7 separate regions of the Homo sapiens genome follow, and all the other regions are linked to region 4. The links are contacts of gene promoters, found by promoter capture Hi-C in blood cells and fetal thymus (Javierre and others, 2016). All regions are on one chromosome and are shown on one strand. The core of a region is centred on a gene start or on the middle of the fragment in contact, and the rest is flanking DNA. Distances in the headings are between cores, read along the strand shown.

Evidence for each region. The method cuts DNA at HindIII sites, captures the fragments that hold promoters and counts their contacts. A CHiCAGO score of 5 or more calls a contact.
Region 1: a fragment that was not itself captured here is called in contact with the fragment with the promoter of SAMTOR in region 4 in 4 of 17 cell types (total CD4 T cells, erythroblasts, fetal thymus and 1 more); the score reaches 6.2 in total CD4 T cells.
Region 2: a fragment that was not itself captured here is called in contact with the fragment with the promoter of SAMTOR in region 4 in 4 of 17 cell types (fetal thymus, total CD4 T cells, naive CD8 T cells and 1 more); the score reaches 7.6 in fetal thymus.
Region 3: a contact is called between a fragment that was not itself captured here and the fragment with the promoter of SAMTOR in region 4, in 2 of 17 cell types (M0 macrophages and M1 macrophages). The highest score is 7.5, in M0 macrophages.
Region 5: a contact is called between a fragment that was not itself captured here and the fragment with the promoter of SAMTOR in region 4, in 9 of 17 cell types (naive CD4 T cells, fetal thymus, total CD8 T cells and 6 more). The highest score is 16.2, in naive CD4 T cells.
Region 6: a fragment that was not itself captured here is called in contact with the fragment with the promoter of SAMTOR in region 4 in 2 of 17 cell types (M2 macrophages and M1 macrophages); the score reaches 9.2 in M2 macrophages.
Region 7: a fragment that was not itself captured here is called in contact with the fragment with the promoter of SAMTOR in region 4 in 3 of 17 cell types (neutrophils, naive CD4 T cells and M2 macrophages); the score reaches 6.6 in neutrophils.

Annotation. Positions count from the first base shown.
Region 1 is chr7:112,472,678-112,476,424 of GRCh38, reverse strand. It overlaps IFRD1 (interferon related developmental regulator 1), which reads right to left. Exons shown (of 12, transcript NM_001550.4): 11 at 3,564-3,659; 12 at 1-995. The coding sequence ends at 906. Among named protein-coding and RNA genes, the nearest start is that of LSMEM1, 6.4 kb to the left of the region's middle. The HindIII fragment of the contact is 3,376 bases long and covers 147-3,522 here.
Region 2 is chr7:112,428,053-112,432,066 of GRCh38, reverse strand. It overlaps LOC105375457 (a long non-coding RNA gene), which reads left to right. Exons shown (of 3, transcript XR_001745325.2): 3 at 1-4,014. It also overlaps a transcript of IFRD1 not described here. Among named protein-coding and RNA genes, the nearest start is that of IFRD1, 20 kb to the left of the region's middle. The HindIII fragment of the contact is 2,509 bases long and covers 895-3,403 here.
Region 3 is chr7:112,497,033-112,500,577 of GRCh38, reverse strand. No RefSeq gene overlaps it. Among named protein-coding and RNA genes, the nearest start is that of LSMEM1, 18 kb to the right of the region's middle. The HindIII fragment of the contact is 1,751 bases long and covers 764-2,514 here.
Region 4 is chr7:112,937,747-112,941,411 of GRCh38, reverse strand. SAMTOR (S-adenosylmethionine sensor upstream of mTORC1) reads left to right here and starts at 1,537. Exons shown (of 5, transcript NM_152556.3): 1 at 1,537-1,821. The coding sequence starts at 1,662. RefSeq lists enhancers at 1,069-1,408, 1,063-1,579 and a silencer at 1,609-1,708. The HindIII fragment of the contact is 2,363 bases long and covers 423-2,785 here.
Region 5 is chr7:112,452,823-112,456,481 of GRCh38, reverse strand. It overlaps IFRD1 (interferon related developmental regulator 1), which reads right to left. Exons shown (of 12, transcript NM_001550.4): 2 at 615-719; 3 at 396-480. Among named protein-coding and RNA genes, the nearest start is that of IFRD1, 4.2 kb to the right of the region's middle. The HindIII fragment of the contact is 6,019 bases long and covers 1-3,659 here.
Region 6 is chr7:113,419,143-113,423,078 of GRCh38, reverse strand. No RefSeq gene overlaps it. Among named protein-coding and RNA genes, the nearest start is that of SMIM30, 300 kb to the right of the region's middle. RefSeq lists an enhancer at 940-1,462. The HindIII fragment of the contact is 5,117 bases long and covers 1-3,936 here.
Region 7 is chr7:112,546,159-112,550,052 of GRCh38, reverse strand. No RefSeq gene overlaps it. Among named protein-coding and RNA genes, the nearest start is that of LSMEM1, 67 kb to the right of the region's middle. The HindIII fragment of the contact is 3,015 bases long and covers 832-3,846 here.

The DNA of each region.
Region 1 (3,747 bases), core at 585-3,084, 470 kb after region 4:
CCTCCCCAGAGTGCTGATTATAGGCATGAGCCACACTGCATGTTGCCAAGCAGAAATATTCTTGAAAGTCAGAAACCTTAATCCCAATTATGTATTGCTACATTCTTTTCATCTACTTTAATGTTTGTAAATATACACATAAAGCTTTGTCTCCCTGCCCACCTGGCCTAGTCATTTTGGACTCTGTACCTCAAAGCCATAAATAATATTTCTTCTATTAGAAGAGAAGCACTTTCAGTGTGGAAAAAAATCTTTATTTCAAAGTAAAATGCACAAAGTCTCATACAGCAGATAAAATCAGTGTTACTGCTCTCAGATGTTAAGGTTAGCAACCTTTCTGGCATATGCTAATTCATCATGAACTCCCAATAGCTGAACTGAATGGCTTTTAAGTACAGCTATAAGGTCTCATGGTATAATTCCTTTTGTTGATGCCAGTGACAGGATTTTAAAAGCTACATTCCATTAAAAATTAAAAATACAGCAGCTTTTCCAGGGGAACTAGATCCCAAAATTGTACCCAGAACTCTTGTCTAAGATATTAAGTTAAATATCTTGCATGTATATATCATTATAGTAAATCAGTATTCTTGACAACCACAGTGTAAGAAATTAAACTTTGGCTAATTGTTTTCCCCATCATGAAATCAGTCTTTTGCTGTCTTCATAAATAAATTATGACCAAACATTACAAATACTTTATACATGTTTACTGATTTACAGAGAATATTTAATAATCAGAACTCACCAGTTTCAATAGTATTGTACATTAAATTATAAGCAATATAACCACTGCTACAAAAGTTATCTAAGTTAATCCAGGATAAAAACTGTGTCTAGAGTTTAAATACATTGAAATAGAAAAAAAAATAGAAATTAGAAAATAGTCTTCAAGTTCTGAAAATCTAGAAGAATTCTCCAACATCTGCTCTCTTATCTCGACATTTGCTTCTAGCTTTGGTTCGAGCTTTGAAGGCTGCAGAGTTATATAAATGCTAAAATGAAAAAAAGGAAAAACGTGCATCAGTAAGACTTAAGATATTCTTACAAAACAGAAAAAGGGTAAAAGTCACAAAGAAAAGAAATGAACTAATTTGACCCTATAAACATTTAAATGTTTATAAAACACACACAAAGAATGAAGGAGAAAAACAAAGAGTTAACAGGGGCCATGCAAGGTGGCTCACACCTGTAATCCCAGCACTCTGGGAGGCCGAGGTGGGCGAATCACGAGGTCAGGAGATTGAGACCATCCTGGCTAACACGGTGAAATCCCGTCTCTACTAAAAATACAAAAAATTAGCCAGGCATGGTGGCACATGCCTGTAGTCCCAGCTACTCGGGAGGCTGAGGCAGGAGAATCGTTTGAACCCGAGAGGCAGAGGTTGCAGTGAGCCGAGATCACGCCACTGCACTCCAGCCTGGGCAACAGAACGAGACTCCGTCTCAAAAAAAATAAATAAATAAAGAGTTAATGGCTATTCCATATTAAGAAAAGTACTAATCAAATTGTAAAACGCCAAGAAAGTTAGACGATTTCAAAAACCAACAGTGAAAAATGGACATCAACATTGTTTCATCCAAGAAAAGACAAATCATGACTAATGCAGAAAATAGTCCTACTTGGCTGTCAATTAGAACAAGGAAAAAAGTGATGAAGTGCCATTTTAATATCAATTAAATAAACACATTTTTTAAATTATAAAACTCAATGGTGTCAAATCTTTGTGTAACAGCTACATGCCTTCATTCATTGCTGGAGACAATTTAAATATCGTCTCCAATATAAGAGTAACTTTGGAAAGTAATTTGGCAATACATTATGCAGGGGATTTCTTCAAAAAAATTATTCAAAAGAGAGAAGTATGTAAAAATATTAATGTTTCTTAAAAAAAACTTAAAATGCCGTACAAGAAACAATTATGTGGATATAAAACTGATAAAATATCCAGGTTCTATAAAATGTAATTAAACACTTCACACCCACCAGAATGGCTATAATTAAAATAATTATTAGTGAGGATGTGGAGAAACTGGAACCTTTCTTTCTACATTGCTGATGAGAATGTAAACTGGTGCAGCAGCTATGGAAAAGAGTTTGGTGGTTTCTGAGAAAGTTAAATGTAAAACTATCATCTGACCCAGCACAATTCCACTCCTAGGTAATACCTCCCAAAATTGCAAAGAGCCTTTCAAAAAAAATTTTGTATGTGAATGTTCAGAGCAACACTATTCACAACGGCCAAAAGATGCAAACAGCCCAAATGTCCATCAACTGTTAAAATGGATAAACAAAATGTGATATATATCCATACAATGGAATATTATTCTGCCACAAAAAAGAATAAAGCTCTCTGAATTCATGCTACAACATGAATGAACCTCCAAAGCATTATGCTAAATGAAAAAAGCCAGACACAAAAGGTTGCATGCTATATAACTCCATTTGTATGAAATCTCCAGAAAAAGTAAATCCAGAGACAGCAGATTAGCGGTTGCCAGTGGCGGGGGGTAGCACAAGGGAAGTGACTGCTAATGAACAGAAGGTTTTCTTTTGAGGTGATAATGTTTTGGAACTAGAGTTGTACAACATCATGAATGTAATAAGTGCCACTGAACTGTATACTTTAAAATAGTCTGTTATATGAATTTCATCTCAGCACAAAAAAAAATACATAAATTAAGGATTTTTGAAATGCAGGCTGGTCATGGTGGCTCATGCCTGTAATCCCAGCACTTTGGGAGGCCAAAGTGGGTGGATCACCTGAGGTCAGGAGTTCGAGACTAGCCTGGCCAACATGGCAAAACCCTGTCTCTACTAAAAATACAAAAACTAGCCAGGTGTGGTAATGCACACCTGTAATCTCAGCTATTCAGGAGGCTGAGGCAGGATAATCACTTGAACCTGGGAGGCAGAGGTTGCAGTGAGCCGAGATTGCACCACTGCACTCCAGTCTGAGTGACAGAGCAAGATTCCATCTCAAAAAAAAAAAAAGAAATGTTAAGTAAAAATGATATTAATTACTATTTAACTCTCTTAAGTTTCCTCATTTGTAAAACGAGTCTGGTACTTCACTTAGCAGGCTATTATCTGATACAAAAGGACTATGTAAATACTTATTCTTAAACATAAAAACTCCAAAGAATAAAAAGAAACAAATAATGAACACCGTTCCTATATTAAGATAGAATTATACGTAAAATATATATGTACATATTAAATTTTAACGTGTTGTCAAAATATGTTTCATAAAATGAAAGAAATACACCTAATGGGCAAACAAGCAGCAATATTCTTTTCTCTGTTTTGCTTTTGAGACAAGGTCCCACTCGTGTCACCCAGGCTGACACATATATACACACACACACACACACACACACACACACACACACACGCCCCCCACACTCTAAATGCTTTCTGTATCTTTAGTACAGCTATTCTATGTGAAGCATCATGAAAAACTAAAACTCCACATATAGGTAGACACAGCTAAGTTGCTGACACTAGACAGAATCAAAGCTTTGGCGCACTTAGTTTTATTAAAAATAAAAACAAAACCTACCCTTTCGAAACGAGAAATCTTCATCGTTTTAAGCGTTGCAGCATCAAGCATCACTGGGGGTCCAAGTTCAAATACATTTCGAAGGAATTCATTTGACTTATGTGAAAGAAAAAGGTGGTATGGCTCAGTATTAAACATTATAGCTCTTTTTCACTAGACAGAGTGACTCTGATTAACAGAAGTT
Region 2 (4,014 bases), core at 900-3,399, 510 kb after region 4:
ATGTGGCTAAATGGCTGGCCTGATGACTAATATCGTCTAGCATTAAATTGTGTTCATACCGCCAACACAACACTATTAAAGGCAGCAAGAATCACTTGTTTGTTTAGTAAATATGTATTGAGCACATAGGATGTAGATGACGCCAAAATGGACAAAATATTTATGAACAAGTACATCTATATCAAGGACAGAATGTGGAGATGCTTGCTTTCTAGGAATTGAGGCCTCAGATGACTGGAGTTTCCATATAAAGGAGTTTCCAAAAAGATCGTAATGAATAGACAGAATACTTGGTAGCCCCTTTCTTTAATTCGAATACTACTTTCATAACTGTGACATTTCTGCTTCCACTCATTTAGGCAGAGAGAGTAACCCCTATGACCTTTGGTCATCAATGCAGATAGTGGAGAAACAGATTATGGAGGTTGGGACAAGGGAGTTTCCTACTGCCCTGGATGTTTCCCTCCCAGTATTGCAATAGGATGGGAAGGAGGACTGCATAGATATAAGGAATAGGTGGTGGGAGGGTGAACTGCGGCTGTGAGTCTAAAGTTAAATGATCATACCACACCTCATCCAAAACCTGGCTTCTAGGTGATTTCACCTAAAATATTCCAAACTGATGCATGTCATTCATGTTCTCCAACACAGATAAGAGAGTAGACTCCATAGGTAGTAGCAGAGTCCTGTTTCTCAAGAGGAGGAAAAAGTCCTGAACTGTTATGCTGAATTATCAAATTTGAATTTTGTTACCACATATTTATATATTGAGACCAATCAATCTTAATTCAAAATATATAATATGACATATAGTTAAAACAATAGTATATGTCTTCGTATAATAATTTCTAGCCAAAAGAGCAAGACAGAAACCTCCTAGTCTAGCCTTAAGCTTCCTTAGCTCCCTTTGTGCCCTGTAAAGCACTAATGGTGTCAGTAGCTTTCTGGCCACAACAGGATACACAGGATACTGGTAGTAACAGCAATACGCTCGAAAAATAATAAGCAGAAAATGTTCTAGGATCAAGGACACATGAAGAAAAGAAGGTGGGAGGGAGGGGAGGAGAAGGATGAGGCAAGAAAGAAGAAGAAAGGAGGAGCTCAAAGGAATGGTCCTTCCACTCTCACTGGCCTTTGGGGAGCTTCTGTATCAATTAGCTGGGGAACACGGTGCTGACCTAGGTGAAACATGATGCTGGGAGAATCTTCTACATCAGGCCCCAGGCTGTATGAGTACCCCAGGCCACTTCTGGCGGAGTAGCAAACTGCAGTAGGTGATCCTTCTGGCTCCCTTTAGTCTAGTCCACCCACTTGGTCAACCCCAAAATGAACAGAGATAGAAAGGGGATGAAAAGTAGTTAGGAGTGAACATATGTGTGGAAGAGAAGCAGAGAATTAGCCCCATTCCTGGACATGGGCTCACGAAGGTTTATTTTGGGTAGGCCAGATGTGAAAGACTTCTCTATTTTCTAGTGTTCCCAGGGCAACAAAAATCAGGGCTCATGTCATTTGTGATGAAAAGGAAGTTTAGACTTTTACCAGGTTCTCCTTCCTAAGTGCTTCTGAAAATCCCCAAGGAATGCTTACCTGTTCCACACATCTTCCCTAGCTACTGCTTGTCCCTTCAGCTAAGAGCTAGACTGCTGCTCCAGTCTTCAGCAGGCCACCCCTGGCCATCTCAGAACCACCTTCCAGATTGTTGCCAGGCTTCCCTATCTGCTGTATTCCCGGCACTGACACATGCCCATCCCTGAATCCCTGAAGTACCACAACAATCAGGAGGCTTGGGATAACAGAAGGGAATTATGATATAGAAAACAGCATTTTCCTAAAAAAGAATTGGGCTCCCAAATCCTTCACCTGCCTCAGGTTGCATCTTTTCTACGTTGCTGATTACAATTTTTTGCTTTCCTTGGCTCCTAACTCCCTCTGTGGAATGAGAGTGGGCAGCTCCAAGTCCTTTTATCCAAGAGAAGAAGCCCTTAGGGCTCTGCAGGTGCTGTCAACCCCACCATACCTCTGATTTGTATCTGCCAACATGGAACAGACATGGAGAGGATAAAGAAGTAGGAAGAAGCTGAGAAGAAGGGAGATGAGAAAGTGCTGACTGAAACATCAGCACTATGCTCTATGGCTCAGAAGTGTCTTCTAATAGTAACATTCTATATTTTATTTATATAACAACTTTTCTCATGAGTTATGCTCTTATAAGAAAAACTGAAGGACTATCAATAGAAAACTTAACCAAGCTGCAATTTTTGTAACATGAGGTTGCAGAGTATATTCTTTTTTAGGAAGATGCTAGGCCTGCCTTATCCCGAAAGAAAAAAGAATATGCCTTGTTTATTGAAATTGCTAAAATATTAAATTGATATCATGAGTCCCATTTTAGTGTGTCTGAGTGAGAATCTGTTGAAGCAGACGGGACATTATGGGAAGAAATCTTACAAAGTAAAATTAGATTTTTCATACACAGAGTAGCAGCTGTTCAGATTGCAGGAAAATCCTTAGAAGCCATTTATCAGGTGGCAATGTGGTGAACAACAAAGACAACTCTTCTTTCAGATGTGAGAATGGTCCAGCACACCTCTGTGACTGCAGATGACAGCATGCTGTGTTCCAAATATTGGAACTATTGAATAACTGATGTTCAAAGATTTATACATCTGAATGAACATTCTAGAGTGCAAATTGCCTTTGACTTAACGTGACCAAAAACAGAATTCTAAAGTGTAATCACATGCTGGATGTGCCCAACGACTATGATACAGAGTGATGTGTGCATAGGCCAGTGGTTTCTTTAGGTACAAGACATGCCAAACACAACTGAATAGCCAGGTTTGAGATTAGGCAAGTGTTTTAAAGTAGAAAAAGCCACAATTGGGATAAAAACAAAGCAAGAATATGGGAGACAAACAAGAAAGTACAACGGAGTAATTGCAACTAAGGCAACTCAATTGGTAGATAGGTCTAAGAACCAAAGAGTTCAAACATTTGTAAATTATTTTCCTGCTTTTGGACAGACAGGTCAAAGTTACTTTTCTGAACTAGAAAGATTTGTAGGGAGATGAATTTTAGAGGCAGTAAAGGGCCACCCCAAAGTAAAACTGTCAAGTTAATAAAGTCTGTTGTCATGATGACAATAGCTTTTGAGAAGAGGATTGACATGATGTCAACGTTTTGTTTTGAGGAAGATTAATCTACTGGTAATAAGAAAGATGACTTGAAAGGGGACGGGCAGGGTGGATTCAGGTTTTGTGTGTCTGAAGCTAATACCAGCTTTAAAAGGGTAGGGGCTCTGTTTAAGAAAAAGAATACAGATTCAAGTATACAAAATTTGCTAGGGCCCTTCCCAGAGCCTTTGAATGGCTTCATGCAAGGAAAGGAGTCTGAAGGTTAAGCTTCCTTACCTTCGATAAGCCACCTCATAAGCAGATGATAGCTAAGCCACTAACAGTGTCACCCTCATCTTGCCAGCCACCCAAGTGAGACCCCCAGGAGTCATCTTTTATCCTTCATCCTATTTCCTCTTCAGTCACCAAGCCATGCCCATTTAATTTCCTAAGTATTTCTCAAGTTCATTTATTTCTTCATTCTTCATTCCAGTACCTTAGATCTACCTGTCACTGCCTCTTAACTACTCCATTGCAAATAGCTTTTCCAAACTCGTTCCCTGTTTCCACCCTGTTTACCTCCTAGAAACCTATCCTTCACCCAGCCGCTCAGAATACTCTATCTATGGGTAGATCTGATAATCTCACACTTCTGGTTAATACTCTTCATTAAAGCTTCATCAGGAGAAGGCCCAAGCCTCCATAGTATTATAAGCAAAGCCTGTGTGATCTCACCCCTTTGTCAGCTCAGCTCTTGACACCCTTGCTTTGCACTTCTCACATGTCAGCACAATACTGCATTTCTGGCAAATGCCTTGAAAGTTTTTACATCTGGGTTTTTGGTTCCTGACTGACCTCTTGGCTGAGAATTATCTCCCTTTTCCCTCATCCCTCCTCCTTC
Region 3 (3,545 bases), core at 390-2,889, 440 kb after region 4:
AGGACTTTTTCCATTTTTATGTTCATTTAGTGTTGAGAACATTAAGATCTAGACACAAATGGGTGACATCAGGCACAGTTTTAATTGTCCTTTCATATTAAGCATGATAAATTCATATCCATACCTATCTATGGCAGTCATTCAAACTCAGAAATGATGTCTTTTCTCTTCCAACAGGTCTGTGAAGCAACTCCCATTCTTTTAGTAGATTTTGAGTTTGCTTTTTTTTTTTTTTACAAGGAATAAACAACAATTCTGTTTCTTTATAGATATAGATTTTCCAATGCTTTGTTTAGTTTGATTACCCAATCCCAGGCAATAGTCTTGAAGGCACAAAACCTGCTTTAGAAATTACAGACTGAGGCAATAGAGAAGAGAAGGGAAAGAGAGGGAAGTCAGAAAGCCAAAAATTATAATAAAATACAGAAATAAACAGCTATGAGGAAGAATTTAATATCATATGCTATAGATCCATGATGTGTTTTTAATTTCTAATCACTCAGATGAACTATGGAAAACCACCATATTCATCCATAAAATATCCTTGACTGCCAAAAGCAGAATCCTGGGCTAAATATCTGACCCAATATGGGTGGACTTTCTTTTCTTAGGTCAAAAATTAAGACCAAAGAATAAGTTGGTATGGAGCCAAAGAAAATAAATAGTCAAAAATCAATCAAGATTCAACTAAAGGTGAGTGCTAAAATAATTGGAAGTAAAACTACACCTAGGAAGCTGATACAAAATGGATGTAGGAAAAGCTTGAAAAAGGAAATGCCAAGTATACTGGGTCAGAAGCCAACCATGAGAAAAGAGTGGGTCTAATTTAGAGCATAACAGTTGCTGGGGGGTTAGCGAACCATCCAGTTATAAGCTGGGTCTCCTAAGATCAAGGCAGCCTAAGCTCTGCCTTCACATCCATGGCTCCTAGATCACCACACTCCATTTTAAACACTTTATTTGCTGAGGAAAAAATGAAAATTGGAAGGCATCCAGAGAAAACTAAAATGACCGTAGAAGGACAGTTTAAAAAAAATGTAAATGAATTAAAGATGGAAAATCTGTTTAAAGGACAACAAATGCAAAGAAGAAAGAATGTAGGAATGAAAGAATGTAGTGCACATTCAAATTTCTAACAAAAAGGATGAGAGCAGGCAGACAAAAAAACTAAACCCGGAGTGGTGGCACAGCCCAGTGGCGCAATGGCTCACACCTGTAATCCCAGCACTTTAGGACGCTGAGGCGGGAGGATCACTTGAGCCCCGGAGTTTGAGACCAGCCTGGGCAACAAAGCAAGACCCCATTCCTACAAAAAAACTTTTAAAAAATTATTCAGGAATGGTGTCACACACCTGTAGTCTCAGCTACTTGGGAGGTTGAGGCAGAAGGATTACTTGAGCCCAGGAGGTCAAGGTTTCAGTGAGCTATGATAGCACCATTTCACTCCAGCCTGGGTGACAGGTCAAGACCCCGTCTCAAAAAAAAACAACAACAAAAAAAGAATTAAACCTGGAGAAACCATAATGCAAAGACGTTCAGGGTCTTGGGCAAAACAAACCAAAAGACCAAGACGGTGTAAATCACAGGGAACATAGCAGAGCTTTATGAAGAAGAGAGGACTTACTGGCTGGGTATTTCTTTTTCTAAACTTCGTAAGTCAGGAATTGAGCTGAACACTGCAGAAAATGTCAGGAACACACAGACTTTCTTGTCTGTCAAATCTCTAAACTAGAGCAGTTTCTTCGGTTGTCAGCCTGTGCAGTTGCAGAGGACACTGTGCTTGGTTTAATATTCTGCTATTGCCATCTTGAAATTATTAAGAATTTATAAACACGGGGCCTGCACTGCATTTTCATTTTGCACTGGGCTCCACAAATCACATAGCTGATCCTGCACTAAATTCAGACTGTAAAGAATTCCACCACAGGCCAGGCGCAGTGGCTCATGCCTGTAATCCCAGCACTTTGGGAGGCCAAGACAGGCAGATCACTTGACGTTAGGAGTTCAAGACCAGCCTGGCCAACATGGTGAAACCCTGTCTCTACTAAAAATACAAAAAAATTAGCCAGGCGTGGTGGCAGGTGCCTATAATCCCAGCTACTGGGGAGGCTGAGGCAGGAGAATAGCTTAAACCCAGTAGACAGAGGTTCCAGTGAGCCGAGATCGCACCACTGCGATCTCCATCTCAAAAAAAAAAAAAAAAAAAAAAAAAAGAATTGCACCACTACCAGCAAAATGTCTCTTTTGTCCTACATCTGAAAACAAAACAAAACAAACAAAAACCAGACAAATTTGAGTAGAGAGTAAAGCAAGAACAAGGACAATCTATTCACCTCCTTTTCCTGCAAGACCCCCTTTCTGTCTCACCTGCTGACTGAGCTCCCCCTCATCATCCTTCCCCAGGACAGCAGCTGCAAAGTCAAGGAGAGTGGACCTTGACTGGACGAGCTGCATCATCAGAGTCCACTAAGCAATGGATTCCTCCACAAAGGTCACTATAAGTTAAGAAAAGCTTTCCCTGGTCAACTGACATCTCTAATCTTTCCAGGTTAAATCATTCTTCTTCATGAAGAATCCACAATCCACCTTTGAGGAGTAAACAGATGCATTTGCAAATAAGAGAAAGCCTAGGAAAATTAGAGGTTTCTTATCCCCAAGCAATTTTAATAAGGAGGAAACTGTAGGAAATACATATGTATATAAATACATTCCTAAAAGCTACTGTTTCTTTACTCATTTATTCAAAAAGCCTTCTGTCTGCCAGACACTGCTAGGCACTAAGGTTTCAAGGATGAAAAAGAGAGACATGGTCTCTACCCTCGTGGTGGTTACAGCCCAGTGGAATGCTGACTGTGAACCAGGAGTTATGCTAAGTGTTTCACAAACACGTGATCTCCTTTCAACCACTATAGGGTCAATGTTATCACCCTCATTTTCAGAGAGGAAGGAACTGAGAAAGAGGTTAAGTTTCCTTCCCAGGCCACACAGCTTTTAAGAATCAGAACTGAGATTCTAATCCAGTTCACCTGACTCCAAAGTCCATCTGGTGCCTGAAAATATTAGGGTAGGACTCCTTGAGGAAGCAAAACCAAAAACATTTTAGAGGGTCTGTTTGAGAAGACTGGATACATGCAGGAGGGATGTTGAAATGAAGGGATTAGAAAGAATATCCCAAAGAGAAGGGACTCTCTGAACAAAGACATCGTGGAAATAGCATGCTATAAAGAACCTACAAAGCAGGATTTGGGAACTATTAAAGATTTTTTACTAGGGAGGGTATAGATTTACATTTTTAAGAAGGTTATTCTAATGGCCTTGTGGAATGAGGACTCGAAAGAGACAAACCCAGAGTCTACGAGACCGGTGGGAAGTCTGTTGTGATCATGTGGACAAAACACAATTATGGGCTTAAGTAGAGCACAGACAGTAGGGATAGGGAGGAAGGGATGGATTTGAGAAATGTTTTAGCAGTTGGAAAGGGACAAATTGACTAGATAGAACATGGTCCCGGGTTAGGAATAGGAGACTGAATTAAGGACAGAGGT
Region 4 (3,665 bases), core at 288-2,787:
GCACAAGTGAAATTTAATGCTCTTTTTACTATCATTGTATCTTTCGAATATCTGCACCATTATTTGCCTTCCATATGTATTAAAATATGGAAAGAGCCAAAAGAGACATGTAATTCAAGCTCCCCTTTCTTCCCAAATGAAATTCCCCCAAATAAGACCACCATATTTTCAATTTATTAGGCACTTCCGCTTAACTTCTCTTCATAATTATAAGGAGTTCTTTTGAAGTTTATATGTCCTTGTCTTTGTGTTTGATCTGTCTCTTCACTGTGCTGTAGGGACACATCTTCCGCCTTTAAATTCCATCAATCTCCCTTCACCTCCCGCTTCTCCTGTGTCCTAGACAGTGTGTATAATTCTTTGCTCTTCAGCGTATTCAATATAAAGAAGGTAGCATATAAAACAGTTACATAATGCAAGCTTTATTCGTAGTTAGAAAATCATTATCAAAATGTTACCATTGCAATCATTTCCATAGACTGTCACGTAACCAACACCTGCAATGGGGAAGTGGTACACAATCCAACACAACTCATTAGGGGCTCTCAGTCTATTCAATCTCTGACACTCCAGCAGCCTCAGTACCACTTCAGGAGCCAATGCAGTCTACCTCTCTCCAGAGAGCAGTGTTCCACCTTTCTGGGACAGAAGTCAACAATCGCGTTCCCCAAGAGATGGAAAAGAAGTGGAGGAGGGTGAACAGGTTACCAAACCCACTTAGATACACTCCGCATAGACTAACTCTCCAAATTAAAGGACAGGAGGTCACCTGAGCTGACCATAAAAGCTCAGAGTGCTGATGCGAATAAGATCAGGGAAGGCTGCTTATTAACACCGTGGTCACTACAAAAGTTCTTGAGGGCATCTGCTGTGAGTTTTCCATCGTTCCTTATTGTCCTCCTGCATCTCCTGTTGCTTTTCTTGGCCCTCTCCTTTTCGCATTTTCTATGTCCTTTGCCCAGCAGTAGTACTGCAGGCATAAACCATTGTCGACCTGAGAATTAAATTAGCATTTGGTAGCCAGACCTCTCCTTGAGCCTTAGAATGCTTGTGTGCTTGAGGTCCCTGAAGTGTAACGTCATCTCAAAGCGCAAGTAACTAAAGGGAACCTACATGTGACAAGGTGCAGCGGAGGTTCAAGCAGAGCACCCTGGCCGCATCGCAACAGATTATAAAGTGTAGGGGATGAAAATGATGGAAGACATCAGAAAGCCGAGCTGTAAAAAAGCCCAAACTAAGCAAACTGAGACGCGCAAGCGCGTTGCTCACAGCTCGTCTCCCGAGGCCGAGCCACAGCGCCTGCGCACAGAATCCGGGGAGGGTGGGGAAGAGATGAGCACCCAGGCCTGGAGCTCCCACTGCCTCAGCCTCCCTATCCCCGCAAGCTCCGCCTCCTCCAGCTGCTCGCCTTCCCAAACAACCGGGTTCGCCGCCGGCGCTTTCTGCCCATTGGCCCTTAGCCTTTTCCGTTTCCGCCCAGCCCTCAAAATCCACCAATCAGTTTGCACTTTTGGGTGAGGGTCCACCTCCAAGGCTGTCGCTCCGGTTCCTCTGCCTCCTCTGGCTGCTGCCTCCGCAGCTCCCTCCTCCTACCCCACCTCCTCCATCTGGGGAGCGTCTGCGGGGGCCTGAGGGGCGGCGGCGGCGGCGGCGGCTGCGATATGGAGCCAGGGGCCGGCGGCCGAAATACTGCTCGTGCGCAGAGGGCCGGGTCCCCGAACACTCCGCCGCCCCGGGAGCAGGAGCGGAAACTGGAGCAGGAGAAGCTCTCCGGTGTGGTGAAGAGCGTCCACCGGCGGCTCCGCAAGAAGTACCGAGAAGGTAAACAGCGCGCTGAGTGAGGGAGGAAGGGGAGGCCTCATCACCCCCAACCGCTTGTCACCTCTTCCCTCCTCCAAAGAGGCCACCATTAAAATGTAAAGGATCTGCACGTCCCCCCAGCCGCTGCTGCTCTCCCGGGCCTGGTCTGAGCCCCCTAGTCGGCATCAGACGCGCTCCTCCCCGCCCCCTTTTCTTTGAGGGCCCTTCGGGAGAGTTCTAGGCCTGTAAAGGAATTGAGTCCCCACCCCCTCCAAGCCCCTGTCCCCAGCCGGGGTGCTGAGGTTGTTGTCTCGGCACACACAAACACATACACGCTCACAGAGGAGGTGGGGGTCGCTTTTTGCAAGAGACGCCGAGGTAAAACAAGACAGGTAAAATCCATTTGTAAAAGACGAAAAGAAACCTGAGTTGTCCCTCCTTTACGCTTGACCTACCGGCTGTACCATTTGCTTCCTTATCAGACCCCCTTCCTAGTACTTCATTCCTACAACCATGCCGAGCCTTCCTCGCATTGGCTTCCAGGGCTGGGAAGCCAGCAGGCCTTTTAGCTGACTGGACTTCACATTGTTAAAAGGGGGCGGGCTACACTCGTGGCCCCCACTCCCATTTCTTAAATACTTGGTCTTAACTGTTTATTTAGGCGATGAGGAAGAGATCTGGGCAGGTTCTGAAAATACCGTTTGTATTGGAAGCCTCCTAAAGACACCTGCCGATAAAGCCCACCCTCGGCTTCCATGGATGGGGTTCCGGTGAGAACCCCCTCTGTGGAAGCTCATAGGGGAAGAAGCCTTAGTGGCTTTTGCCTGTGCCTGAAGAGTGTTTATAGTTGGAGTCTACAGTTATCCTTGATATCTTTAAATATAGGCTTTTGTACACAGCTGTTTTATAAGATTTTGACAGTGAAAATTCTGTTTTCATAGGCTTGGGAGAGAGACTTCTCCTGAGTATCGAAATGAGGAAAGCTTTCCACTGGTTCTCATTTTAGCTTAATTGCAAACTGAAAAGTCAGCAGCCTTCTGGTGTTAGTCCTATACTTAGTTAATAATTTAGGATTAGAAGGAAAATTATGGCAGTGAAGGAATACAGACAGGTAAGATCATGTTACTGTTGATTTATACACACGTTTCAACTACTCTAGAAAGTTAAAACTAAGTATCCTTTGTTCTTTTGAATGTAGTTGATATGTTTCATTTTTCAAACTTTAAAGGTTTCTTTCCTTAGCAAATCAAGCTTAGCTTTTAATAGAGGCTGTTTAATCATCCCCAAATGGGGCTTGTAGTTATTGTTTAACAGATAGCAATAGAAAGAGTCTTATCAGACCTACTTAGGATGGTAAAATATGTTTTTTGAAAGAATGCTACCCAAACCCACAATTTAGTCAATAAAATGAGTAGTTACCATAGCAACAACTGCATCATTCTTGATATTCAAAGAATGCTCTTACATAATGGAATTCACTGTAGATTTTATGTTATTTGGAGAGATTAGGAAATAAATGGACACATTTTCCTGCAATTTATCCTGCTATTTTGTACAAATTTAAGTGCATCTTTCTAAAGAGAAAAATGACTAGCATAGAATTCCATTTCTATTTTTACCTTTTAATAATTTCATTATTCATTTATTCATAAATGAATAGGTTCCACTCAAATTAACACACTAATGTGGCATCTCTTCAAGTGCTGTTTATATGTGCTTAGTTCCCACATGTTTAACCATGTTTTAAGCCTGAGTATTAACCACAGGAACTCTTGTTTATGAGAATCGGAAGTTACCAGATCTAGAATAGATACATGGAGTTCATAAGTGAATGATCTAGTATGCTTCTGGGGAGTTAAAGTCCT
Region 5 (3,659 bases), core at 915-3,414, 490 kb after region 4:
GACATTTTTTCATATCATAACATTAGTGGACAAGCAGCTTAAAGCAAGGTTTCGTTATCATTTCTAGTTGAAGATTAACTTTTAATTCAACAAATTCATTTCTATTATAATCAAATACAGCTATGTATGTGCTATTATGCTAGAATAATGACTAATCTGACTCAATCTAAATTCTAATGGCATGTTACTACCCACATTAAAGTCCAACGGAATAAGAAACATCCAAAGTAAACAAATTAACCTTTAGGAAAAATATATTGCTATTATCTGAGAGCTGCACAAATTATATACATGTAAGGTAACTGATTAGAATCACACAGAATAATCATTTCTCTTAGCTTTTGACTAAGATCAAGCATAGACTCACACAGAATGGAGTTTCCAGTATTGCCTACCTCTTATCCAGGGTTAGGTCAATTAATCCCTTCAACTTGTACTCTAGGTCTTCTTGAGTTCCTTCCTCATCAAGGACTTCTGGTCCTAAGAAATAATATAAAACAGCCATCGTAATTTAAAAGAAAAAAAACAGGGAATAATAGTATACTTTAGCTACAAGAATTCCTCCACCTGAAACATTTTATCTAAAGTTGCAAATTTAAATTTAAAACTCATACCATCTTCAGCAAAACTGGAAGGATCGCTATAACCACTGCAATGGCTCATTGTTTCAATTGATGCATCTTCATCACTAAAAGGCTGAACATTTCGATGCTGGCCACCTATTAGGTAAAAGAGGAAAGAGGTAAATTATTTTATTGCCATATACCTAAATATTTAACTTTGGAATTTTTAAGTTTACTTAAAGAGAAATCCAGTAATAAAACCACAGACTCATTTTATAAAAAGAGATTTTATCACAAGTGAACATACTTAAATATTCTTAAACTAAGTTCACCTAATTACGTATTTCAAAGGACCAATGATACATCAACTATACGCATCAGTCCTCTAACAAGAGGCATTCTTTTTTTTGTTTTGTTTTGTTTTTTTTGTTTTTTTGAGACAGAGCCTCCCTGTCGCCCTGGCTGCAGTGCAGTGGCACAATCTTGGCTCACTGTAACCTCCACCTCCTGGGTTCGAGCAATTCTCCTGCCTCGGCCTCCTGAGTAGCTGGGATTACAGGCGCACACCACCACGCCTGACAAATTTTTTGTGTATTTTTAGTAGAGACAGGGTTTCACCATGTTGGTCAGGCTGGTCTCGAACTCCTGACCTCGTGATCCACCCACTTCGGCCTCCCAAAGTGCTGAGATTACAGGTGTGAGCCACTGAGCCCAGCCGACGCACTCATTTTTTTATGACACAAAAACTGATACAAAGGTGGGCGCGGTGGCTCCCGCCTGTAATCCTAGCACTTTGGGAGGCTGAGGCGGACAGATCACTTGAGGTCAGGAATTTGAGACCTGCCTGGCCAACATGGTGAAACCCCGTCTCTACTAATACAAAAATTAGCCCGGTGTAGTGGTGCGTGCCTATAGTCCCAGCTACTCGGGAGGCTGAGGCAGAAGAATCGCTTGAGCCTCGGAGGCAGACGTTGCAGTGAGCCAAGATGGTGCCACTGCACTCCAGCCTGGGCGACAGACCAAGACCTTGTCTCAAAAAAAAAAAAAAAAAAAAAAAAAAACTGATATGAAGATGAAATAATTATTTCTAGACCATGATTTCAAATCATGAAGACAATGAAAACAGATCCAGAAATAGTGTTGTATCATAGATAATCATAAGAATAAGACAAATATATTTTCCAATGAGAATGGCTGGACTTAGCAAACATGAACTGGTGAATGGGTTTTTAGGTTACACATGTCTTATGTTAAGGGGAATTAAGGAGTTAAGGCAGGGTAGTTTTAAAGACAACTTGAAGTGAGAGAAGACAAAAAAGGCTTAAAATAGAAGTTTTGGTATTTGATATAGTATAAAAGCCTATCAGATAAACTACCTTTAAGGGAAAGTTTCTACAATGTGCAAGAGTTTAAAAGTACCAATGCTGGCCGGGTGCGGTGGCTCACACTTATAATCCCAGCACTTTGGGAGGCTGAGGCCGGCAGATCACCTGAGGTCAGGAGTTGGAGACCAGCCTGGCCAACATGGCGAAACCCAGTCTCTACTAAAAATACAAAAATTAGCTGGCCCTGGTGGCAGGCGCTTGTAATCCCAGCTAATTGGGAGGCTGAGGCACAGAATCACTTGAACCCAGGTGGCACAGACTGCAGTGAGCCGAGATAGCACCATTGCACTGCCTGCCTGTGGACAAGAGTAAAATTCTGTCTCAAAAAAAAAAAAGTACCAATGCTGTTACTAAAAAAATAAAATCTTCTTTTTAAAAACTAGAATCTTTCTTTAAACTTCATTAACTTCAGGAATAAATATACAGTCACTTAGGGATTTTGTATTAATAAAAGGACTGCCAAGTCATAAACTACAATTCAGCACTGAGTTAAATTAAGTCCCAAATTCTGCCCCAAAAGTGACCGTGAGTCACCTGATTAACCTCTGAACCTAATTCCCTTTCAGTAAAATCAAAGTTCGTATGTTCAAACGTCACCACCTTAACGGTTTTTTTTTAATGCTCCAAATTTAAGCCTGTTACTGTTGGGCTGGATTTTTTTTTTTAACGGAGTTGTCTTTTTTAAAATCAAAACAGAGAATTTAGCAGATTTTTAAATTAACACAGCAAGCAAGTGGCCTTCAGATTTGCTTGCGTGGTGCCAAAGTAGTAAAGCATAAAGATTAAGCAATGAAGCCAAAATCTCAAAATTTCTTGGAGTGCTTAGGACAGGAATAAACAAAGACCTATGACATCACACTCTATTTCTGGATCTATCTTCCTCGTTTTTATGACTGAAGTAATGGCAACAGATGAGTGTCATCTGATTAATTTTATTAACATTTATTCACAAGTCAATTCACAGTTTTTCTTTTTCATAGCCTATTTCTAAGAGTATTCCTCCTATGCAGCTCTTACTCTGCTCCCTTAACTCATCAGTATTAATGATTTCTAAGATTCGAGGGAAAGAAAAAAAATACACATATATATGTATCAAGAAAAAGAACCCTGTATGAATGCCTGATATTTAGGTCAAACTCACCCACCCACACTGTGATCCTAAGTACCACGAAAGAGATGGCACTCTAGGCACATAAAGTACTTATTTCTAGAGGGCTTACTAACAAGGTTTTGTTCTTTCTTAAAAATATTCTCTTTAAATTAAGTGCTATGACATACCTGTATAAAAGAAGTCAATTTTATTAGCTTCCTAAAACTCTCCACTAACATAAAAAAAATAAAGAGTTTAAATAGAAAACTCATTAAAGTAATAATGACAATTTGGTTACATAGTGGAGACCTCATTTGAATCCCATTTCTTTTAGATGTCATTTAAAAATACTAGTTAGGTAAGTGGCTTGTTAAGTAAGCAAAAGTTTGTGTAATTTTCCATCTCTTCTACTCAACTATTATTTATTCATTGTTTATTAAACAAGTAAAACATTCACATAGGACCAAGTTAAAGTTTTAAAAAGTAAATCTCACCCCCATACCTTTCCCCAGCTCCACTTCTGAGGTAACCACAGTTAACAAGTTCTAGCACACACTTCCAAAGATATTCAAAGCATGTATTGTGTTATAAATTAATCAAAGAATTATTTTCCACTTGTTT
Region 6 (3,936 bases), core at 378-2,877, 480 kb before region 4:
GGATGCACACTCCACATTACTCCATGGGAAAATAGGTATCACATGGGTCTCACTCACGCTCTCTTTTGCCCTAAAAACAATCTTGACTGTGCATGGGCAAGTTTTCAACCTTGATTGTGTACTGGAATCATCCAGGAAGATTTTTGTAATCATGACATGCCCCAGAGCAATTACAGGAGGAGTTGAGAACCAGTTATCAATATTTTTTTTAAAGCTCCCAGGTGTTCTGATAGGCAGTCAAAGTCGAGAGCAAATTCTCTGTCTCTAAAGACAGGTTCATAGGTCCAGTCATAAAATTAATGAATATTTTCGGCATCTCTGAGTAGTTCTTCAGGCTTAATCTTCCTCCAAGAAATCCAAACTGCTATGTAGCTGTGTCATTTTGAGAAATTAATAAGCTGCATTCCCATCTCACTGCAACATAAATACCATGCTAGTCAAAGATTTAAATGTTTAAAATATTGAGTCTATAAAAGTACTAGAAGAAAATATGTTGAAATTCTGCAAAATCTTTAGGTAAAAAAGGCCTCAGAATAAATAACTGTGGCATAAACCAGAAGCAGCAGCAGGAGGCCAGATAAATCCCACTATGTAAACATGGGTACAGAATGATAATGATATCAATTATGAGCAGGCAGATTATTTCCTATGTTCCCTTTGACTTCTCTACAGTATTAACTTAAGCATGAGAACTGAACCTAGTCTTCATTGATACAAAGTGAAGAGACACCTCATGTTAGTCAAAGATAATTATGTCAGGTTCTTGGCCTTTCTGTGGCCCAATTTAAATACCAAAAAATTATGGGAGATAACTCTGAGCCAGTTTTAGTCTATCTAAAAGGAAATAAAAATTTTCTCAAAGGTAGGAGAAGGAGGTTTGGGGATCTAAGAGTGACAGGAGACTTGTACCCCATCCTTGTCTGGAACACCAGGAGGGAAGGTCCTTCACAGGAGTTGCGACTGGCATCACAGCATCATGGGACCAGTGAAGATGAAGTAGGAGAGCTGAGGCAATCCCACCAATTTCCTGTAGCTCCAGAGAGCAACGGAGGAGAAGATGAAATTACCCTGAAAAGTACACAGCTGTAAGTTCTGAGAGAGACCTATGGGACCTGAAGAGATCTCATTGGTTGTAACAAGAGCATACACCAGCAGATGGCAGCAGATGGTTGTAACAATAGGAAACCAGCAGGTGGCTGCCACGGGGTTGGGGAACACAGCCATTTTAGTGAGGCCAATCATCGGTGGGTGTAATGGCCAGCTCAGCAGATGCAAACAGGAGCAGAACCCAGCTGAGGGACCAATCATATTCCCCCAACACCATGACCCTCAGAGAACACCCAGAATTTACAGTATCCCCAGGGAGAAATAGAGGTAGAGGAGTAGAGGAAATCCTGAGTTGACCTTGTTTAAACTTGAAATGGATGGAATTACACTGGAGTGAATGCAGTTCACCTGTTATCACGTGAAACAGAGGAAGGGCTGGAGGAATGCCAAGAATATGAACAAAATTGAAGTACTCAGAAATGAAGGAAAATGTTATTTTTAATTTTTTATATACCTGAATATAGCCTGAGAAAATGATACCTTAGAAACTCTGCAAAGCAAAAAAATTATAAATTGTCAAAAGACAAACTTAGAAAGTGAGAGCAAATATTGGCAAAACAAGGGGCTAATTTTCTTTTTCTTTTTCTTTATTTGACAGAGTCTTACTCTGTCGCGCCCAGGCTGGAGTGCAGTGGCATGATCTCAGCTCACTGCAGCCTCCGCTTCCCAGGTTCAATGATTCTCCTGCTTCAGCCTCCCGAGTAGCTGGGATCACAGGCATGTGCCACCATGCCTGGCTAAAATTTGTATTTTTAAAAGAGATGGGGTTTCACCATGTTGACCAGGCTGGTCTTGAAATCCTGACCTCAAGTGATCCGTCCAACTGGGCCTCCCAAAGTGCTAGGATTACATGCGTAAGCCACCATGCCCGGCTAATTTTCTTGATATACAAAAAACTTTCAGTACCTTTTAAAAAGTTTACTTTTTATTAAACAAGGAGAACTATACAATAAGTACTGTGCAGTTCACCCACCTGGAATATACCCTCATTTCTGGAATTTTACACTGGAATAAAGAGAGCAAATAAAATAAAGTGGTCAAAAATTCAATCTGTGTAAAAAAAAAAACATACCTAATTGACACTTTTATTACTGAGAAAACATTTGGCTGAAAGATCTGAATTTACAATATATTAGTTAAATCTTAGCATATCATCCTTTCTTTTTCCAAATTGCAGCGTCATAGAATTGACATGCTAGCTGTCCTTTCCTTCTTTGCCTAGATCACGAGAAACTGTGCATGCAAATCATTCACTGGTTCCAAGAGTTTCCCCTCTAATAAGTCAGACTACAAAGAAACCCATTCTACCCACCTTTCCCTCCTCTTTCTCCCATTAATAATCAATATTAGCCAACCCCATTTAATTTTAAAGAATCGCCTTTGAATTATTTTTCAGGAATAGACAAAACTAACGGTAAGAGGTCAACATCCTCAAAGCCACTGTTACGTATTCCAGGCTTTAGTACATTATTCCTAATGGTGTCCCAGAAGTCTAGATATTTTCAACTTAGGATGATTAATAAACATTAACAAATTTTTTAGCCTAGTGTGGTGGGGTGTGCCTGCAGTCCCAGCTACACAAGAGGCTGAGGCAGGAAGATGGCTTGAGCTCAGGAGTTAAGGGATGTAATATGCTATAATCCCACCTGTGAATACCCACTGTGAAATAAAGAAAAAGTAAAGAAATTAAAAATTTTAAATTCGTTATTACATATTTGCACCCATTCTTCAAACTATCAAATATTACTGTGAATGTATCATAATTTATCCAGTTATCCATCATTTAACTGAAATGTGTTTTTTCCTCATTAATGTACTTATTAAAAAGGGGTAAACTTTTTTTAGATATATTAATATATGTTATCTACATTTTTTCTATTTTTACCTTATTTTAACTTTGCTATACAACTATACCCCTTTGTCATAGATTTAAGATAGTTCGACTTTTGCCCTGCATCCCTTACACCCTCAGTATATTCAAAGACTTTGCCCCTGCAATTATCTCTTCTCTCATTTGTATCATTAATTTTTCCTTCTCTATTCTATCATTCCCATCCTCACAAAATAACTACTGTAATAACTCCTTTCTTTAAAAAAGAAAGATTAAAACTCTCTCCACAATTCCACTTTATTGCTTCTAATTACACAACCACTCAAAATAATTGTCTTTGTTCATTTTCCACATTTTCATCTCCCTCCCATTCTCTTTTGAATCCACTCACACTACTGCTTTCAGTCTACTCTGGTTAAGGCCACCCATCATCTCCATATTATCAAATCCAGTTCTCTGAGTTCATTTACTTAAGAATGGGCCAGTCTTCATTAAAAAAAAAAAATCCTTATTTAGCTTCTGGGACTCCTAGTTTTCTTTGTATGTTGCTGTCTCCTCCTTCCTGATTTTCTGCTGGATTCACTTTCTCATATTAATTGTGGAGCCCCCTGAGGCTCAATATTTTGGACTCCTCTCTATTTACACTCACCCCCAGGTAATGAATTGCAAATATCATTTATAAGTTGGTGAGTTCAGTAGTTTTTATCTCAAGTCCCAACCTCTCCTCTAATCTCTAGAATCTTATAAAAACAGCTTATATATAGATTGTCTCCCTTAGATGTCCTAGTAGGAATAACAAAGTTGAGATGCCCAAACGAGAACCACTGATACCTCCCCAACCATCCCAAACTATTCCCCAACTTGCTCTTCCTCCAGTATTCCATATCTTGGCAAATAGCACCAACATTTCTCAGGATGCAAACTTTGCTCCTTTCCTTGATGTCCCTTTCTCTCACAGTACACATCCAATCCATCAGTAAATTCAACTGGCCTACTCG
Region 7 (3,894 bases), core at 1,090-3,589, 390 kb after region 4:
AAATTACATGGCGTGAGGTAATGATATTTTTACATATGGATATCTAATAGCTTCAGCATTTGCTGAAACACATTTGTCAACAATCACTTGACCGTTTACATACCGGTCTATTTCTGAACTCTCTGGTTTATATGTCTATCCTTACACCAATGAAACTATTTGGATTATAGCAACTTTATAGTAAATCTTGAAATCAGTTACTGTGAGTCTAACTTTATTCTTTTTCAAAATTATTTTGGCTCTTCTGGGTAGTGTGCACTTCAATATAAATTTTAGAATCAGCTTGTTAATTTCCATTAAGGAAAATGCCTCCTGGGATATGCGAGATTTTATTAAATCTATAAATGAGGTTAACTGACATTTTAATTCTATTGCATCTTCCAATTCATAAATTCAGTATATCTTTCCATTTATTGTAATTTTATAAAATGTATCTAAGCAATGTTTTGTAGTTTTCCTCAGTTGTTATTCTGGGGATTAGACAAACTCACAATTCTTACCCCTTCTGGTTCAGAGATTAAACTTTTGTCTGTCTTTCAGCTGCTTTTCAATACTTTCTAATATCTTTAAATAGTTTTTTAATTATTTAACAAGTTTTTATAATTATCTGCTTGGAATTTGTGGGATCACTTCACTCCTCCAAAAGCAAACTCCTTAAATATGTTGATAATAATCAAGTCTAAAGCAAAGATTAGAGCTCTTCTTGGCTCTAAATTCTATCAACTTTCTAGTCACATCTGGTGCTTGCATTATGATATCTTCATTTTAGTCAGCTAAAGCCTGAAATAGGAAGAACAAAATAGACAAAGCAAGCTCGTTTTCTATCAAGCTTCTTATATTTGTGAATTACACAGATTAGAACAGATTTACCAATCAGAAAACCCAAAGATGTGGTCATTCTCTCAAAATATTATATTATAAAGCACGTAAAAATCCTCATGGAAAGTGAAGTAGTGAGGAGAGTACAAGTACATATTTCACAATATTATCCAATGTGTTTTATTTCTCATTTCCAGTAATTCCTCCTACCATGCAACTATTTTCCCCAATTTCTTCGTTCAGAAAGCAGCAAGAGCAAGGGGGTCTCATATTCACTGCCATGTTCAGGTTTTGTTGTTACAGCAGAAATGAAGTTGGAAAGAAATTAGTTAATACTAAGTATTTGAAGTACAAATTAGACTTGAATATTCTGACAAAAACAATATCCTTATTTAACTTAATTATTCAATTTTATTTTTAAAATATTTGACTAGTTGATACATGTACATAGTACAGCATTCATAAAGTACAAAAAAAGTCTATCATGAAAAAGTTTCCTTCACTCATTTCTCCCCACCAGCAAGTTTCTTCTCATGTTTTCTTCTAAAACCTTTATAGTTTTATTTTTTATATAAAAATACTTGAATCATCTGAAGGTATTTTTATGTAAAGTGTAAACTGTGGATCCACTTTGGTTTTGTTTCCAGGTGGTTACTCAATTGTACCAATACCATTTGCTAAATAATCTACATTTCTCTTTACTAATCTGAAATGTTGCTTTCATCATCTGGATATTGAGGGCTTTAAAGCAATAAAACAATTTCAAACTACATACACCTCTATTTGCCTTTTTTAGATCACTACTTAATTTCACATTGTTTTTGGTATTATGTAGTAAACAAAGAGAAATTTTAACTTGGAAAAATTATTTTTATAAAACTTTCTAAATGATTCATCAGTTTCCTATGATTAGCATTTAGAGAATACTTACTATATAACAAGCAACTCACTGGGTATGAAGGAAATGGAAGTGTTTATATATTTATTTATTTTTGAGGGTCTCACTCAACCAGGCTAGAGTACAGTAGCGCTATCACAGCTCACTGCAGCTTCAACCTCCCAGGCTGAAACAATCTTCCCACCTCACCCTCCTGAGTAGCTGGCCACAGGCATGCAACACTACATAATTGCTTGCTTAGCTGTACTATTTTTTGTAGAGACTGTGGGTGGCTATATTGCCCAGGCAGGTCTTGAACTCCTGGCCTCAAGCCATCTTCCTGCATTGGTCTCCCAAAGTGCTGGGATTACAGGTGTGAGCCACCATGCCTGGCTGAGTTGTTCATTTTGATAAAACGTTTGCTCAAAACCTATCCTATGATAGACTATCTGGAAACACAAACCATCAAGAGGTTTATCTCTGGGGAAGTGACTTAATTTTTATGGCATACCCTTTTTTCACTTTTTGAATTTTATGTCCTATGTCTGTTACTTATTTTAAAAGTTTTGATTCTAAAATCCTATGGAGGGACCAAGATGGCCGACTAGAAGCCACTGTGAACCACGGCTCCCACTAAGGAGAACAAAAATGGTGAGTGGATCCTGCACCTTCAGCTGAGGTATGCAGATTCTCTTATTGGGACTGATGAGGCGGTTGGCATGACCCACAGAGAACGAGGAAAAGCAGAGTGGAGCAAAGGCCCACCCGGGAGCTGCACAGGGCAAAGGGAACTCCCAACCCCAGCCAAGGGAGGCGGTGAGTGATTGTTCTACCCCACCCAGGAAAACATGCTTTTTCCATGGATCTGTGCAACCTGCGATCAGGAGATCCCCTCCGTGAGCCCACGCCACCAGGGCCTTGGGTCCCAAGCACAGAACTGTGCAGACATTAGGTAGCCGCTCAGGTTGCGGCCAGTGGCAGCACACTGGAGACTGCCTAAGACACACCCAAGTTGGTTGGGTAGGGGGTGGGGACAGCCGCCATCCCTGCAGCTCCAGTCGGCCGTTCTCCCCTGCCGGTGCCAGGGAGACCGGATGATTTGCACTGGGAGGAATTCCCCACGGTACGGCTGTGGCAGACCACGGCCAGACTGCTTCGTTAGGTGAGACCCGGATCCATTTCTCCTCACCAAGCAGGGCCTCCCTGTGGGAATTTCAGCAACTCCAGCCAGATGTTTACGGACAGAACGCTGATCTCCCTAGGACTGAGCCCCTGCGGGGAGGAGTGGCCGAAATCTCCATGGTTCAGGGGATTTAGTCTTTCCTGCCTGCTGACTCTGAAGAATCCAGGCAGCCCGGACAAGGGGGGTTCCCTACAGTGCAGTGCGTCCACTCTGCCAAGGGGCAGCCAGAGTGCTTTATTAAGCGGGTCTTGATCCTGTGTCTCCTGACTGTGTGAGACCCCTCCCAACAGGGGTCGCCAGACACCTTATAAAAGAGTGTTCCCACCAGCATCAGGTCGGTGCCTCTCTGGGATGGAGCTCCCAAAGGAAGGAGCAGGCAGCCATCTTTGCTGTTCCGCAGCCTCCACTGGTGACACCTCCAGGTGTGGAATGACCTAGGTGAATAGGGTCAGGAGTGGACCCCCAGGAAACCACAGCAGCTCTATGGAAGAGGAGTCTGACTATTAAAAGAAAAATAAATAGAAAGCAACAACAACAAAATGAAAAAGACCCCACAAAAAAACCATCCAAAGGTCAGTAGCCTCAAAGTTCACAAAGATGAGAAAAAATCAATGCAAAAACGCTGAAAACTTGGAAAGCCGGAGTGCCTCTTCTCCTCCAAATGACTGCAATACCTCTCTAGCAAGGGCACGAGCTGGGCTGAGGCTAAGATTGATGAACTGACAGAAGTAGGCTTCAGAAGGTGGGTAATAACAAACTTCAGTGAGCTGAAGAACTATAGTCTAACCCAATGCAAAGAAGCTGAGAACAATGATAAAACATTACAGGAGCTGTTAACCAGAATAACCAGTTTAGAGAGTACCATAAATGACCTGATGGAGCTGAAAAACACAACACAAGAACTTCACAATGCAACCACAAGTATCAATAGCCAAATAGACCAAGAAAAGGAAAGAATCTCAAAGCTTAAAGACTATATTGCTGAAATAAGTCAGATAGACAAGATTAGAGAAAA